Linked DNA regions of Homo sapiens: region 1 is linked to region 2. The links are contacts of gene promoters, found by promoter capture Hi-C in blood cells and fetal thymus (Javierre and others, 2016). All regions are on one chromosome and are shown on one strand. The core of a region is centred on a gene start or on the middle of the fragment in contact, and the rest is flanking DNA. Distances in the headings are between cores, read along the strand shown. Region 1 overlaps PHLDB3 (pleckstrin homology like domain family B member 3). Region 2 holds the start of KCNN4 (potassium calcium-activated channel subfamily N member 4).

Region 1 (2,700 bases), core at 1-2,500, 300 kb after region 2:
AGGAAACCCGCACCTATGCCTGCAGGGGAGAAGTGGATAGGCTCAGGCCAGGGTGTATCCAGCCCTGTAACCTGGTCCCCTCTACCCTAGAATCCCTGGAGGCCTCAGCTCTCCCGCCAGCAGTGGGGGACTCCGGCAGATACCCCCTCTACCAGCTGCTGAACTGTGGCCGTGGGAATAGGTGAGACATCAGAGAGAAGGTGGGGAGATGGAAGAAGAGGCCCAGCCACTGTAACCCACCCCGTCTGTGTTCCCTCCTCCTAGCTGTGGGGCCATCCATCCAGACATTGCCCACATGGAGCGGCTCCTGCAGCAGGCCATGGCGGAGAGGGAGCGGCTGCTCAAGGCCCGGGTGAGAGCCCAGGCCATCCTCTTCGGAACAGAAGACTGCCCCAGCCTCTCCTCCCTCAGACCTGGGAGACCCCCAACTCCACCTCCCTCAGACCCAGGGGTCCAGGCCCCCAGCCCCTCCACCCTCAGACCCAGGAGTCCAGGCCCCCAGCCCATCCTCCCTCATACCCAGGAGTCCAGGCCCCCAGTCCCTGTACCCTCAGAACAGAGAAGCTAGGACATTCTCCAGCCACCCTACCATCTTATGGGCTGGGATCCTCATTGAGTGCTTCATCCTGAATCCACAGGAAGGAACAAGAAGGGGCACGGAAGGTTCCTCAGGCCCTGCTGTTCCTGCCATCACGGTCAGTCCCACCCCCGCCCTCACGCCCACCTCTCCCTGCTCTGTTTCTCCCCCTGACCTATGCCCTTTCTTACATCTGACCCTTTCCTCTCCTCCAATTGAACAGAAAATTGTCCTGGGCTTGGCAAGGGAAAGGGAACTGCAGAGGACCAGTTCCTGTTCCCATGACCGGATGATGGTCATCTCCATGTGTGGCAGGTCCTCGGGTAACTTGCTCTACTCTGCCTCATTTTCCTCTTCTGTACATTGGTGACAATGTCAGCAGTCAGTACAGAAGGAGGACAAGTCCATGCTGGGACTTATTCCTGGCCTCAAGCAATCCTCCTGCCTCAGCCTCCCAGAGTACTGGGATTATAGCGTGAACCACCATGCCCAGTCCATGCTGGAACTTTTAAAAATCATTTAAAATTTTGTTTTTGGCTGGGTGCAGTGGCTCATGCCTGTAATCCCAGCACTTTGGGAGGCCAAGGCGGGTGGATCACCTGAGTTTGCGACCAGCCTGGCCAGCATGGTGAAACCCCATCTCTACTAAAAATACAAAAATTAGCCGGGCATGGTGGCACATGCCTGTAATCCCAGCTACTCGGGAGACTGAGGCATGAGAATCACTTGAACCCGCAGGTGGAGGTTGCAGTGAGCCGAGATTGTACCACTACACTCCAGCCTTGGCAATAAGAGCGAAAATCTGTCTCAAAAAAAAAAAAAAATCAAAACCAAAAAACTGTTTTTATTTTTATTTATTTAAAAAACTTTTTAGGCCGGGCGCAGTGGCTCACGCCTGTAATCCCAGCACTTTGGGAGGCTGAGGTGGGTGGATCATGAGGTCAGGAGTTCAAGACCAGCCTGGCCAAGATGGTGAAACCCCGTCTCTACTAAAAATACAAAAAATTAGCCGGGCATGGTGGCGGGCACCTGTAATCCCAGCTACTCAGGAGGCTGAGGCAGAGAATTGCTTGAACCTGGGAGGTGCAGGTTGCAGTGAGCCAAGATCACACCACTGCACTCCAGTCTTGGTGACAGACCAAGATTCTGTCTCAAAAAAAAAAACAAAAAACCTTTTTACGATAGAAATATTCAAGCATATGCATGAGAGAAGGAGTAGATTAATAGACCCCCAGGTGCCCACTGCGCAGCTTTAATCATTTTCAATATTGAATCTTGTACTTGCCAACTTTTTATTTATTTTATTTAACATTTTAATTTGTGTATGTACTAGGTATATATATTTTATTTTTATTTTTAATATTTTTCTTTTTTTCTCATAAGTCTTCTGCACTCCTATATTTTTAATGTATTTTATTTTTGTAGAGATAGAGTCTTGCTATGTTGTCCAGGCTGATCTCAAACTCCTGGCCTCAAACAATCCTCCCATGTCAGCCTCCAAGCTGCTAGAATTATAAGAATAATTCTAGGGCATTGGTGCCCAGCCACCAATTTTATTTTACTAATCCCATACCTACATCCCACTCTGCACTGAAATATTTTAAAGCAAAATATTGTATCCTTTCACTCAAACATCACTGTGTATCTCCAATAGATAGGCTTGTTTTTTGGGGGACAGAGTTTTACTCTTGTCGCCCAGGCTAGAGTGCAGTGATGTGATCTCAGCTCACTGGAACCTCTGCCTCCCTGGTTCAAGCGATTCTTCTACCTCAGCCTCCCGAGTAGCTGGGAGTACAGGTGCCCACCACCACACCCATTTATTTTTTTTGTTTGTTTTTAGTAGCGATGGGGTTTTGCCATGCTGTCCGGGCTGGTCTTGAACTCCTGACCTCAGGTGATCTGTGTGCCTTGGCCTCAAAAAGTGCTGGGATTAAAAGTGTAAGCCACTGTGCCTGGCCAATAAGTTTTTTTTTTTTTTTAACATAACAAAAATTCCATTGTCACATCTTATGAGATTATTAATTTCATTATATTGTAATATATAGTCCATATTCACATTTCTCTCATTGTCTCCAAAATATGTTTTTAAAAATTTATTTATTATTTTTCTTTTCCTTTTTTTT
Region 2 (2,700 bases), core at 15-2,514:
ATGGCTCAGAGGTGATGGTGTATGTTGCGTTTGTTTTTTTGTTTTTGCTTGTTTTAGAGATAGGATCTTGCTATGTTGCCCAGGCTGGTCTCAAACCCCTGGGCTCCAGCAATCCTCCCACCTCAACCTCCCAAACTGCTGGGATTACAGGCATGAGCCACTGCACCCAGCCGTATGTTGCATTTGGGCACTGGGGTCTATGAAGGTCCAACCCCATCCCCTTCCCCCAGGGCATCATCCTGGATGTTGTCCTGTGTGGCCAGAATATACCAGAATCATCTTGCTTCAGGCATGTGCTTCTTGGGTTTCTCCGTGTGTCGCTGTACCTTGTAGGTCTCTGCATGCATCCACTCAGCTTGTCCTCTGACCATACATTTGAATCGCACCACACATCAGAGCATGCTGAATCAGTGCGTGTTTTGAATCATCACTGCGAGCACTTGTGTTCGAGTCAACAGGCGCCACAATGTATGTGCAATTCTCTAGCTCTGGGTGATTGGGGGCTACTATAGGTATGTCCCTAAATGTTGTGTGTCTACACGTATTGGGTTTCGTTCCAAGGGTGTGTAGTGTTTAGGAAACTGGGACTGCACAGTGTTTGTGTCGGTGTGTGGTGTGTGGCATCAGGGCGTCACTACTTTAATATATATTGTGTGTTTGTGTAACACCTGGTGTATGTTGTGTTTGTGTGGCCACAGTTGTGCATCGTCCTATTTGTGGTGTTTGGGTGTGGCTCTTTGTGTCAGAGAAAGTTGTGACAACTTTGAGTGTAATATTTGTGCCTGTGTGTGGACGGTGTTTGGGTGGCTGTGTGTGCCACGGGATACTGCCTGCTTGCTAAGTGCTGGTGTGTGTCACACCATGTGTGTGGTGTCTGGGTGTGGCTGTGGGTTTCAGAGCTTGCTGGGAGTTGTGAGTCACTCTGTGTAGGTTGTGTTGTGTGCCCTGGTGTGTTAGTCTCCGTCTTGGGCTGTGGAGTGTCCTTCGGTGTCTGGGTGTGGTGAGTAGAGGTGTGTGTCACAAAGTACAGACCATTGTGTGTGACAAAGCCCATCGTGTGTCTGTGTGTGTCTTTATCCACGTGGATGGACGTCTCTTTCTTGCTCTGCCCCAAGACACACCCTAGCCCCTCCTTATTCTCAAAAGGGGGAGCTGGGGAGCCTCCCCCTACCCTGGGGCCTCCCCTGCCCCTCCCCGCCCTGCCTGGCCGTCACCACTCCCCAGAGGGCACAGGGCTCTGCTGTGCCTCAGAGCAAAAGTCCCAGAGCCAGCAGAGCAGGCTGACGACCTGCAAGCCACAGTGGCTGCCCTGTGCGTGCTGCGAGGTGGGGGACCCTGGGCAGGAAGCTGGCTGAGCCCCAAGACCCCGGGGGCCATGGGCGGGGATCTGGTGCTTGGCCTGGGGGCCTTGAGACGCCGAAAGCGCTTGCTGGAGCAGGAGAAGTCTCTGGCCGGCTGGGCACTGGTGCTGGCAGGAACTGGCATTGGACTCATGGTGCTGCATGCAGAGATGCTGTGGTTCGGGGGGTGCTCGGTGAGTGGGGCATGGTGGCTGGGAGCTGGGACTCCTAGGTCTGAGGGAGGAGGGGCTGGGGGTCAGGACTCTTGGGTCTGAGGGAGGGGGGGCTGGGGGTCAGGACTCCTGGGTCTGAGGGAGGAGGGGCTGAGGGTCAGGACTCCTGGGTCTGAGGGAGGAGGGACTGGGGACTTGGACTCCTGGGTCTGAGGGAGGAGGGACTGAGGGCCTGGACTCCTGGGTCTGAGGGAGGAGGGGCTGGGGGTCAGGACTCCTGGGTCTGAGGGAGGAGGGGCTGGGGTCTGGACTCCTGGGTCTGAGGGAGGAGGGGCTGGGGGTCAGGACTCCTGGATCTGAGGGAGGAGAGGTTGGGGGCCTAGACTCTTGGGTCTGAGGGAGGAGGGGCTTTGGCTGGGACTCCTGGGTGCTCCCAGGAGACAGTTGCTGGGGTCCTTCTCTGCAAAAGGAAGGGAATATTTGTTTCAGTGTTTCAGTCTTTGAAGATGTTGCCATTAGACGGCCAGAGGTCCAGGACCCCTGGAGGCCAGAGGGTGGCTGATCAGACACTCAAGCCCCCCAAGAGCCAATAAGGGGAGAGGTAGCCCCAGGTTTGGTGAAGGGAGAGTGGAGGAAAGACAAAGTTCTTCCAGTAGGCGGCAGCTCTTTGGTCCTTGTCTAACCTCTAATGTTTACCCAGTGCCTTAGATGCAAAGGACAGAAAAAACTGCCTTGGGGGTGGGGATGGGAAATGGGAAACAAACCTCTCCCCCGACCTGCCTCCCCCCACCAACCCCAACCCAGTCTCCACTGTTAACAAGCTCAATTTCTCCCCAAATCTGCATGCTGATTAGTCAGGGAAATAGTGGAGAGGTAGGCTTACAGTGGCCTGGACTCCTAGGTACCAGGAGAGGAGGGGGCTGGGTCCTGGATTCCTGAGTCTTAAGGAGAAGGGGGTTTTGATTGCTTTTGGGGAAGAGGGGCTGACTCCGAAGATGAGTGGTGAGTAGGGAAGAAAGGGGAAAGTGGGGTCAGGGCAGGTCTCAGCAGGCTCCCGTCACATTCCAGCCCTGGTCAGGCCAGTGATGGGGCAGATCAAGGACAAGGGTTGGAATAAGTGGCTTGAGGGGAGAACAGACTTGCTCAACAGGAAAGGAGGGGCTGGAGACCTCTCTGGCAGAAGGGTT

What was found. Contacts are between HindIII fragments. The CHiCAGO score rates a contact against its expected background, and 5 or more counts as called.
Region 1: a contact is called between a fragment that was not itself captured here and the fragment with the promoter of KCNN4 in region 2, in 1 of 17 cell types (activated CD4 T cells). The highest score is 5.6, in activated CD4 T cells.

What each region holds. Positions count from the first base shown.
Region 1 is chr19:43,484,261-43,486,960 of GRCh38, reverse strand. PHLDB3 (pleckstrin homology like domain family B member 3) reads left to right here. Exons shown (of 16, transcript NM_198850.4): 11 at 91-181; 12 at 265-352; 13 at 639-695. Among named protein-coding and RNA genes, the nearest start is that of PHLDB3, 19 kb to the left of the region's middle. The HindIII fragment of the contact is 5,698 bases long and covers 1-2,700 here.
Region 2 is chr19:43,779,537-43,782,236 of GRCh38, reverse strand. KCNN4 (potassium calcium-activated channel subfamily N member 4) reads left to right here and starts at 1,264. Exons shown (of 9, transcript NM_002250.3): 1 at 1,264-1,534. The coding sequence starts at 1,376. RefSeq lists a silencer at 1,013-1,282 and enhancers at 1,889-2,018, 2,377-2,700. The HindIII fragment of the contact is 12,714 bases long and covers 1-2,700 here.